Regions from separate parts of the Homo sapiens genome. Here all the other regions are linked to region 1. Evidence: promoter capture Hi-C in 16 types of primary human blood cells and fetal thymus (Javierre and others, 2016). All regions are on one chromosome and are shown on one strand. The core of a region is centred on a gene start or on the middle of the fragment in contact, and the rest is flanking DNA. Distances in the headings are between cores, read along the strand shown.

Region 1 (3,181 bases), core at 616-3,115:
CCCCTGGGGTGGGGAGTGGATGGCATCCCTTGATGGGAGCAGCTAAGTTGCAAAGCCAAGGGGCACAGATACAGAGAAGACTGTAAAATTGTGGCCTTTTTTTTTTTTTTTTCAAACTGTCTACCGCTGTGGATGAGGAGAATATTTCCACTATTATGCCTTCAGAGGTGGGAGTTTCTGCAGATGGAATGTTTCTCGATTAACTGATTTCTGTGAAAACACCTTAGTTTTCTGCCAACCAGCCTCCAGCTGAGCCAACACTAAAGACTGTTGAGAAAATAGGCATGTATGGATTTAAGCCTCAGCGTTTATGGCCTGGTTTTAGTTTTTCTTTTATGATTCTTTACATTATTAATTTTCAATTAATCGACTAATTACCAGTTCTAATTGAGTCAGCCAGACAGACTAATGTGTTTTCAAAAGGCCAATTTGCCCTCAATCATCTCAATATCTCTTAACTTTTGGAGCTGAAAAGGACCTTAAAGATAACCCAGTCTGATGCCCTCAAGTCACAGATGAAGATGCCCAGGCCCCAAGAGAGGATGTCTTTGACCATGGCCCTCTGGTGACTAGGAAAGCTACATAAGGGCTTCTCCCACTGTTCCACCTAGAAGGCAGTCCTATGAGGGCCCGGAAGAATGCTGTAGCAGGCAGAATACTGATCTCCCAAAGGTGTCCTAATGAAGCCATGCCCCAAAGAGTTAAAAAAACCAATGACTAACAGAAATTCTTGAGTTTGCAGGATGGCAGGTAAGAAAAGAAACAACTTGCTGAAATACTGAAACTCCCTCTGCTTATGAGATATAAGAACTGGCTGAAATCAGCTGGAACCAAGATGGCCGACCAGAGTCTAGGCAGAACCAGCTTGCTGATGTCACAGACTAAATTTCCACCATGTGCTTTATACTAACTTTCCCCATAATTGCCCAGGGGACCCATAAAATAGTATGAAGAGATAACTGCATATGACCCAGGACTTTCCAGCCCTTCCCTTTCTTCCACCAAATCACCTACTAATCTTAGAATCCCCTAAACTTTTTCTAATAAAAATACTGCATCACAGGAGACAGATTTGAGGTTGACACTGCTGTCTCCTTGAAAATCGACAATATATTGATTATATATTTAAAATTAAATATTTATATTTCAATAAAAAGCCTTTTCTCAAACACCCAGTGTCATAGCGTTGGCTTCCAATGCATTGAATCACTTTTGTTCGGTAACACTCACCCCTGGAACCTCTGAATGTGTTAGTTTGCATGGCAAAAGAGACTTTGCAGATGTGTTTAAGGTTAAAGACTTTGAGAAGCAGAGGTTATCCTGGATGGTCCGGCTGGACCAATCTAATCATGAGTCCTTAGACAGGGAAGGGGAGGAAGAAAAGAGGGTCAGAAAGATACAATGACAGAAGAAGAGGCAAGAGAAATTCAAAGTGTGAGAGGGTTTGACTCACCCTTGCTGGCTTTGAAGATAGAGGAAGGCAACAGAGCTAAGAAATGCAGACAGTGCTTAGCAGCTGGGAATGGCCCTTAGCCGACAGCCAGCAAGGAAACAGGGAACTCAGCCCTGTGACTGCAGAAACTTTATTCTGCCAACAACCTCAATGAGCAAGGGAATGAATCCTCTTCTAAAGCCTTTGGGAAGGAGCACAGCCCTGCTGACACCTTAATTTTAGGCCTGTGAGACCCATTTCTGACTTCAGGGCTATAGAACTTTAAGATAATAAATTGTGTTGTTTAAGCCACTAAATTTGTGGTAATGTATTTCAGCAGCAATAGAAAACTAATACAAATGTGACAGTGACAGACCCTCCCTTTTTCAGAATATCCTGGTGCATAGCAACTGATGTCATAGAAAGGATTCTAGAAGAGCATGTCATGGAGAACTCTTGGGTGCAGACAAGTGGATGATTAATGAAGTAGCATCTGAAAAACCCAAGGAACCAAATGTAGGTGGAGCAACTTCCCTGCAACACACGTCGAAGCTGCTGCAGTGGCTGTTCTTCCCCTCCCCTTGGAAAGGCACCAAAAGCCAGCCTTTGGAAGGGCTGGTGGACTGGTAGGCGGGTATATGGTGGGCAGGAGGGTAACGGGCATGACAATACCCAGCTGCAGGAGAAGCTCATCAGCAAATTCACTTATTGCTTATTTGATGACAGTTCAGTTGGGAAGAGGAGGTTTTTGTTCATTCATTCATTCAACAAAGTTTCATTGAGCACCTACTCTGTATTAGGTTCTGTTCTGAGTTCTGGGGATAATGAAGAGAAAAAACCAGACCAGGTTTCTGCATTCCTGGTGCTTACACTCAGGTATGGGAGAGAGAAAATAAGCAAGTGAACAGATAAATGAGCAATGGAATTCCTGATATTGATTAATGGTATGAAGAAAATAAAGACCGTCTTCTTTGATGGGGCAGTGATCAAGGAATCTTCTTTGAGGTAGTGAGCTCGTATGTGGTGGTCAGGGCAGTCATGTTCCAGGTAGAAGGAATGGCTGGTGCAAAGGACCTGTGGTGGGAATGAAATTGGCATATTCAAGGAAAAGAAATGTGCAAGGTGACTATGGCAGAGTGAAGGTGAACAAAGGAGAGAGTGATGTAAATTCAGACTGGAGAGGTGCTCAGTGGCTGCATCAGAAAGTCTTGTCAGCCAGGTTGAGGAGTTGGGACCTTATTCAAAGTGCAAGGGGAATCCACTGGAGATTAGTGATGTGACTGGACACATGCTTTATAAAATGCCTTTCCAACTGCTGTGTGGGCAGTGGGTTTAGGGGAACAGAGAGGAGTATGTAGTAGAGGAGTGTAGTTAGAAAGTCTCCACCTTAGAGGTGATGGTGGTCTGGATTAGGATGATGGCAGAAAAGATGAGAGGCGAATAGGTTCTGGAAGAACTGTAGATGGCACACCCTGATGAACCTGATGAACTGGCTTCTGGGGGAGAGGGGAGGAGAGGACTCAGTATGCCTTCTACGAGTTGAGATGATGCCTGCCCTGTGGAAGACAGACATTACCAGAAAATGTTGTTTGCTCTGTTGGGAAATGAAACATGCATTGAGATTCACTTTTTTTAATTATTATAATTTAAGTTCCAGGGTACATGTGCACAATGTACAGGTTTGATACATCAGTATAAAAGGGCAGGGGTGCAACCAGAGCTAAGAAAAATGTCCATACAAGTAAAATC
Region 2 (3,198 bases), core at 249-2,748, 140 kb after region 1:
TTCTTTGATACTTATTGATGTGCTTGTATGTGCATTGACTTTATCTGGAAGAATTTACTAAACGCTAAAGCACTCCTTGCCTCTGCATGGTGGAGGAAGAAGAGTGAGGGGAAAAATTGATTTTCACTATATACCCCTTTGCACCTTTTAAATTTTGAATTATATGCACTTAATACTTATTCAAACCATTTTATTTTAAATTTTAAAACTATGAGCCTTTTCTGATAAGGTTGTCCTGGAACAGCTGTGTCCCAAAGCCTTAGTTCAACGGAGGGCCCATGGCCACCATGCAGGCACCAGGCAGGTTGGTAAGGTAGGAGATGTCTCTGCTGGGGGCTGGGACCATTCCAGAGGACACAGACTTGCCCTCTGCTGTGAGGGGACCTCAGCTTCAGAGAGAAGCTGGATCAGCAGGACCACAAAGACTCCCAGACTGCCCTTCAAGTACTTCAAGTCTCACTGTTTGCTAACACTTCCCAAGGAGAGCCATGGAGGCCTCTTCTAAACCTTCCTCAAAAGAAAGTGAACTAAGCAACAGGCCTGAGGACACTGGTGGCTGGTTTCCCTGGCAACTACGGTTCCTCTTTTGGCTTTTCAATATTAGTTTGAAAAGCAAAAGGAAAGCTTCTTCTGCAGAGAGCTCAATCAGCTGGGATCTGACCTCTCATTCCTGTCATCCATTCACGAGGTGATCTCCCATTTCTGGTGGCTTTTCTAACCCTGGCTAAATGAAATGGTGCTAAGAACAATTCCTGTGGCTAATTGGGAGTCCACAATCCAACCAAGGGTCAGCAAATGGCTTTTAATTCATAGCTATCCATCTTGTAAGTCCAGTCAACTAAACTGATGAAACTAACAGCTGAATTTGGTGAACATTTATTGGTCACTTAGCATGTGTCCAGCACAATTCTTGCATTTGAGTGAATAAATCACAATTCCTGCTTTCCTGCATGTCAGATGGCAGATGAGACGTTCATACAGATGAAGAGTTCATTCAACAAATATTCATTGAGCAGCTATGTCCCAAGCCCTATTGTAGGAAATTAAGATACAATATGGTAAATGCTAACATTGAGTACATGCAAAGTGTTAGGAGAGTGTAGTGGCTCCGTGGCTGCCCCACTCATATTCCCTCGGGCCTCACTATCATGGTGCTTGCAGGCCCAGCTTCTGGTCACCAGCATCTGCACCTCTTCTCTGAAGGCTTCCATTGGGGGCTGGATCCTCAGTGGGCCAGAAGTGCTAGGGAATGAATGCCCCAGGAGCTTCCCTTAGCCAGTGAGTGAGTGGAGTTGATGTATAGACATGCACGCACCTTCGCACCCTAGGGTGAGATGGCTCTGAGGCCCACGTTCTGCTCTGGCCCCTAGAGTGCCCCAGGAGGTTAACCACCACCCATAGCTTCACTTGCCCATGATCTCTGTGCTTTTTCTCTTGCTCTTCTCACCCACAGCCCTCTTCACTCCCTTGGGTGGTGTTGGAATTTGTGACCCTTGAACAAGAGGGTCCTCAAGGTCCACCCCAGATTTAGGATTCCTTTATTCCACCAACCTTATAGAAATGCCAGTGAACAAATAAAATGTTAATTTACAGGGATGTTTTACTCTGTTATGGGCGGAATGTTTGTGTCTCCCCAAATTCATATGTTGAAACTGTTAACCAAAAAGTGAGTGACTGTGGCAAGTGTCTAAATCCCAGTACAGGTTTATTGAGCCAAAGTGTGAGGATGCACCTGGGAAAAACACAAGCCACAGAAGCATCTGCAACCTGTCCTTTCCAGGAAACTCAGTATTTAAAGGGAAGGAGCAAGCAGGAGAAAAGAAGGGAAGGGTGTAGGCAGTGAGGCAAACAGCTATCTACTTCTGAGGCTCTGATTGATGCTCAAATAATCTACACTCTACATAAGGTAAACATCTGAAAAGAGGGAGTATGGGAAAAAGTTGATGATGCAGCCATCTCAGGGCAGGCAGAAAAGTGATTGATCTTATCTTGTCCTTGTGTATTAGTCCACTTTCACCCTACTGATAAAGACATACCCAAGACTGGGTAATTTATACAGGAAAAAGGGTTTAATGCACTTACACATGGCTGGGGAGGCCTCACAATCATGGCAGAAGGCAAGGAGGAGCAAGTCACATCTTACATGGATGGCAGCAAGCAAAGGGAGAGCTTGTGCAGGGAAAATCAACCTTATAAAACCATCAGATCTCATGAGACTTATTCTCAATCACAAGAACAGCATGAGAAAGACCTGCCCCCATAATTCAATTACCCCCCACTGGGTCCCTCCAACAACATGTGGGAATTCAAGATGAGATGTGGATGGGGACACAGCCAAGCCATTTCATTTGTACCTGGGAAGATAAGCTTATAAACGACATTGTCAGGATAAAATTGAAGAGAGCTCAGTTTTAGGAGTTAAACTTGGCTTACAGACCTAAAGTTACAATTGGTGTGTGCTTGTTTTACAGGGGGATATGTGTCTTGAATGATTTAGAGACCTGCAAGGAATTCCCTTGTGAGCAATTTGTGAGGGTGACCATCCAGAGAGGTGGAAGGCCGTTCATCATTGTGGGAACCTGGCTTATGTATAAAGCTATGAAAACACAGGGTTGTGTCTGTTGTTTAAGCCACCCAGTCTGTGGTATTTTGTTATAGCATCCTGAGGTGACAGTGACACAATCTCTGTTAATGTACCTTTTATGTTCCCTCACCTGTAGCTATTCCCACCTCAGCCGTCTGCTTCTCTGTAGATGTTTGTTTCAGGAAAAAGAAAGGCAGTGTTGCATGGCTCAGTCTCTAGGCTTAACTCTCCCCTTGACATAATGAGTTTGGGGATCTTGAGATTTCCGAGATTTGATTTTCTCGTACAAAGCCCTAACCCCCAATGTGATGGTATTAGGAGGTGGGGACTTTGGAAGGTGATGGTGATTAGGTTTAGATGAAGTCAGATGGGGGAGGACCCTCATGATAGGATTAATGTCTTTATAAGAAGAGACACCGGAGAGCTAGCACTCTTGCTCTCTCTCTCCCCACCCCCCAACCTCCCTCTCTCTGCCACGTGTGGATACAGCAAGAAGTAGTCCATCAGTAAGCCAGGAAAAGAGCCTTCACCAGGACCCCGCCATGCTGGCACCCTAATCTCAAATGTCCCAGTCTTCAGAACTGTGAAAAATAAATGTCCATTGTTTAAGCCAC
Region 3 (3,248 bases), core at 559-3,058, 180 kb after region 1:
GGTTTTCAGTTTTCCCCCACTCAGCATAATACTAGCTGTGGGTCTGTCATATGTGAGTTTTATTATGTTGAGGTATGTTCCTTCAATACCCTGGTTTTTGAGGGTTTTTATCATGAAGAGATGTTGAACTTTATCAAATGCTTTTTCTGCATCAATTTTAATGATCATATGGTTTTTATTCTTCATTCCATTGATATGATGTATCACATTAATTGATTTGCATATGTTGAACCATCCTTGCATCCCAGGGATAAATCCCATTTGGTCATGATGAGTGATCTTTTTAATGTGTTGTTGAATTCAGTTTGCTAGTATTTTCTTGAGGATTTTTGCATCAATATTCATCAGTGATATTGTTCTTGAAATTCCTCCTGAAGGATGTTTTTAAAATACAGGTGAGTGAGGGCATAATGGATGAAATAAGGCCCCACAAGAGGAGGGAGGGGCTGAGATCCATGTTACTGGTGGAGAAATGGGCCAGAATTGGGATGAAGAACCCAACCTCCTTTACAGCAGACAGGACAGAGAAAGCAATGAGTGAGCCCGTAGCAAGCTTACAGGCTTGATCCCAGAAAGTTGGAAGAATTCCTGTGTGATGCTTCTGCTTTCTTTAGGAAAGAGGGCAAATACATTTTGTTGAGAGTGAGAGTGAGAGAGAGAGAGAGAGAGAGAGATGGAGCAGAAAGTGAGGAATGAGGAAGGTTTGAGATCGTGCCCATAGAGAACGAGAGAGAGCTGACTGGAGAAACATAGGATCACCTGGCTTCATTGAAGGCCTGGCTGAGGTGGGAAACTATAAATTTGGCACTCATGGTTGTGGCAGTCACACTTACTGTTTTCACTGGAAGCCAGCAGTCCTGGTTTGGTCTGGAAAAAAGAAGGTGAACAGTTGAATGATCCAGAATTGAGTGCAACAGTGGACCATAAAACTTAGGAACTAAAGTATTGAAATTATAGGGCACAGTCTAGGCTGGATAGAAGAAAAAGTAAGAAGATTGTGGGGATGGGGGGGCACAGTTGATGGCAAATTAGAAAAGCAGAGGAGGCAGGGGACTAGATGTTTCTGTGAGGTCTAAGAACACAGGGGGAATGCTCTGACTGAGAGAGCCAGGTGCCAAGAGGTTGTGGTGAAAGAGTGGGGTAACTGATTTTTAAATTTCAGAAGTTGAGTGATTTCAGGTGGTAAGTTCAAGGATATGGCTTTGGGAGAGCTCATCAGAAATGGAAGGGTGATGAAGGCCAAAAGAGATGAGGAAGTAGAGGAACTGGGAGCCCAGAGCCAAATGGGTCATCCTTCATGGGTGGCTGAAGTTGTCCAGGTGACAGAAAGACTTAAGATGGTGAAAAGGACAAAGAGTTCAGAGTTGACATAGCAAAGAATTAAGGGAACCTCCAAGAAGCTGAGGGAGGGAGGTTGAGGGTAGCAGTTGGGAAACGTGAACTTCAACAGGGCAGGGGTTTTGAAAGAGGATAACGGAAGAGGAGCACGCCAAAGGCTGCAATAGCAAAAAGGACCAGAGCCCTCAGGAACATGTGGAGGAAGAATCTGTCCCACAGCAGGGTTCTTAGGGACCAGCCAGGTTTGGTCAGATGTGAGGTAGAGGATTCTTGTTGGTGGAGGTCACAGATGTGAAGGAGTCTGTTTACCTGGAACCGGGTACCAGGTAACAGGAAACAGCTGAGACGGCATGGTTCTGAGGAAGACAGGAGCCGAAGGGGCCCATTCCAAGGCATCACCTTCTTCCCACTCCTCTGCGCCGTGAGGGTGATTTGCTAAAAGCAAAAATGACAAATTATTTTTTAAAAGTTTCCTCATTGGGCTGGGCACAGTGGTTCATGCCTGTAATCCCAGCACTTTGGGAGGCCAAGGTGGGCAGATCATTTGAGGTCAGGAGTTCAAGACTAGCATGGCCAACATGGTGAAACCCATCTCTACTAAAAATAATACAAAAATTAGGCAGGTGTGGTGGCATGCACCTGTAGTCCCAGCTACTCAGGAGGCTGAGGCAGGAGAATCACTTGAACCCAGGAGGCGGAGGTTGCAGTGAGCTGAGATCTCGCCACTGCACTCCAGCCTGGGCAACAAAGCAAGACTCTGTCAAAAAAAAAAAAAAAAACTTCCTCATTTAGCAACTGGAAGTTTATTAGGTCTAGTGAAAAGTGCCTTTTACCATAGACATCCTCCTTAAAGGGTGGCCTATGGCTCATGCCAGTCCACAAACTGTCCCTGATGAAATAAGAACAGAAACTGAGAGTAAATGGTTACTTTTCAAGCAATTTGCATTGCCACGTTGTCCAAGTACATGCCAATGGTGTGGACCATTCAAGTGTCATTGCACTCTAATGGTGAGTTTTGGGTGGACAGGCAGCAAACTGACCACAGGCAGGAGGACCACATTACAACCCATGAGATTTTAAGGTTAGTTTGTCAACCGTAAGTCAAAAGCATATAAAAATCTGAGCAAATGTAAGCATTTCTTTTTTTTCTTTTTTTTTTTTTTTTGAGACTGAGTCTCGCCCTGTTTCCCAGGCTGGAGTACAGTGGCGCGATCTCTGCTCACTGCAACCTCCACCTCCAGGGTTCAAGCGATTCTCCTGCCTCAGCCTCCTGAGTAGCTAGGATTACAGGCGCCCACCATCAGACCCGGCTAATTTTTGTATTTTTAGTAGAGACGGGGTTTTGCCATTTTGGCCAGGCTGGTCTCGAACTCCTGACCTCAGGTGATCCGCCCGTCTTGGCCTCCCAAAGTGCTGGGATTACAGGCGTGAGCTACTGCGCCTGCCCAAGCATTTCTTTATTTTTCTAACTTGTTACTTTTACCATCAAGTTAATTCTAATCAAGTTTTTAAAAATTTATAGTTTAATATTATTATCTAAGTTGGAGATATAAAATTTGTATTGTTCATTTGTTAGCCAGACTTTACAGATTGTAAAACAAAGCCTCATAGAAAAATTTTGGCCAAAAAATTACTTTAAATGTCTTATCTTCCTTTCCAACCAACATCTCTCTCTGAGGCTGGTTTCTCTATTGTGAGTGTTATTAAAAGAAAACACAAGCTTATATGTTATCCCCTGCAAATAACACTATTGTTAATCTGAACTAGCTGAGATAAATTAAAAGAATCCAATCCTCATTTATCACATTAAAAACTTGAATATTGTATCAGGCAATATTTGCTATAATTAAAAAAGAAAATAAAAGAAAAAATAAAACTTCAATATTGATATATATTCAAAGTGAGAGTAT

Evidence for each region. The method cuts DNA at HindIII sites, captures the fragments that hold promoters and counts their contacts. A CHiCAGO score of 5 or more calls a contact.
Region 2: a contact is called between a fragment that was not itself captured here and the fragment with the promoter of LYZL4 in region 1, in 2 of 17 cell types (naive CD8 T cells and M2 macrophages). The highest score is 5.8, in naive CD8 T cells.
Region 3: a contact is called between a fragment that was not itself captured here and the fragment with the promoter of LYZL4 in region 1, in 1 of 17 cell types (naive CD4 T cells). The highest score is 5.2, in naive CD4 T cells.

What each region holds. Positions count from the first base shown.
Region 1 is chr3:42,409,294-42,412,474 of GRCh38, reverse strand. LYZL4 (lysozyme like 4) reads left to right here and starts at 1,865. Exons shown (of 5, transcript NM_144634.4): 1 at 1,865-2,058. The HindIII fragment of the contact is 15,012 bases long and covers 1-3,181 here.
Region 2 is chr3:42,270,917-42,274,114 of GRCh38, reverse strand. No RefSeq gene overlaps it. Among named protein-coding and RNA genes, the nearest start is that of CCK, 6.3 kb to the right of the region's middle. The HindIII fragment of the contact is 1,743 bases long and covers 627-2,369 here.
Region 3 is chr3:42,232,503-42,235,750 of GRCh38, reverse strand. No RefSeq gene overlaps it. Among named protein-coding and RNA genes, the nearest start is that of CCK, 32 kb to the left of the region's middle. The HindIII fragment of the contact is 2,505 bases long and covers 556-3,060 here.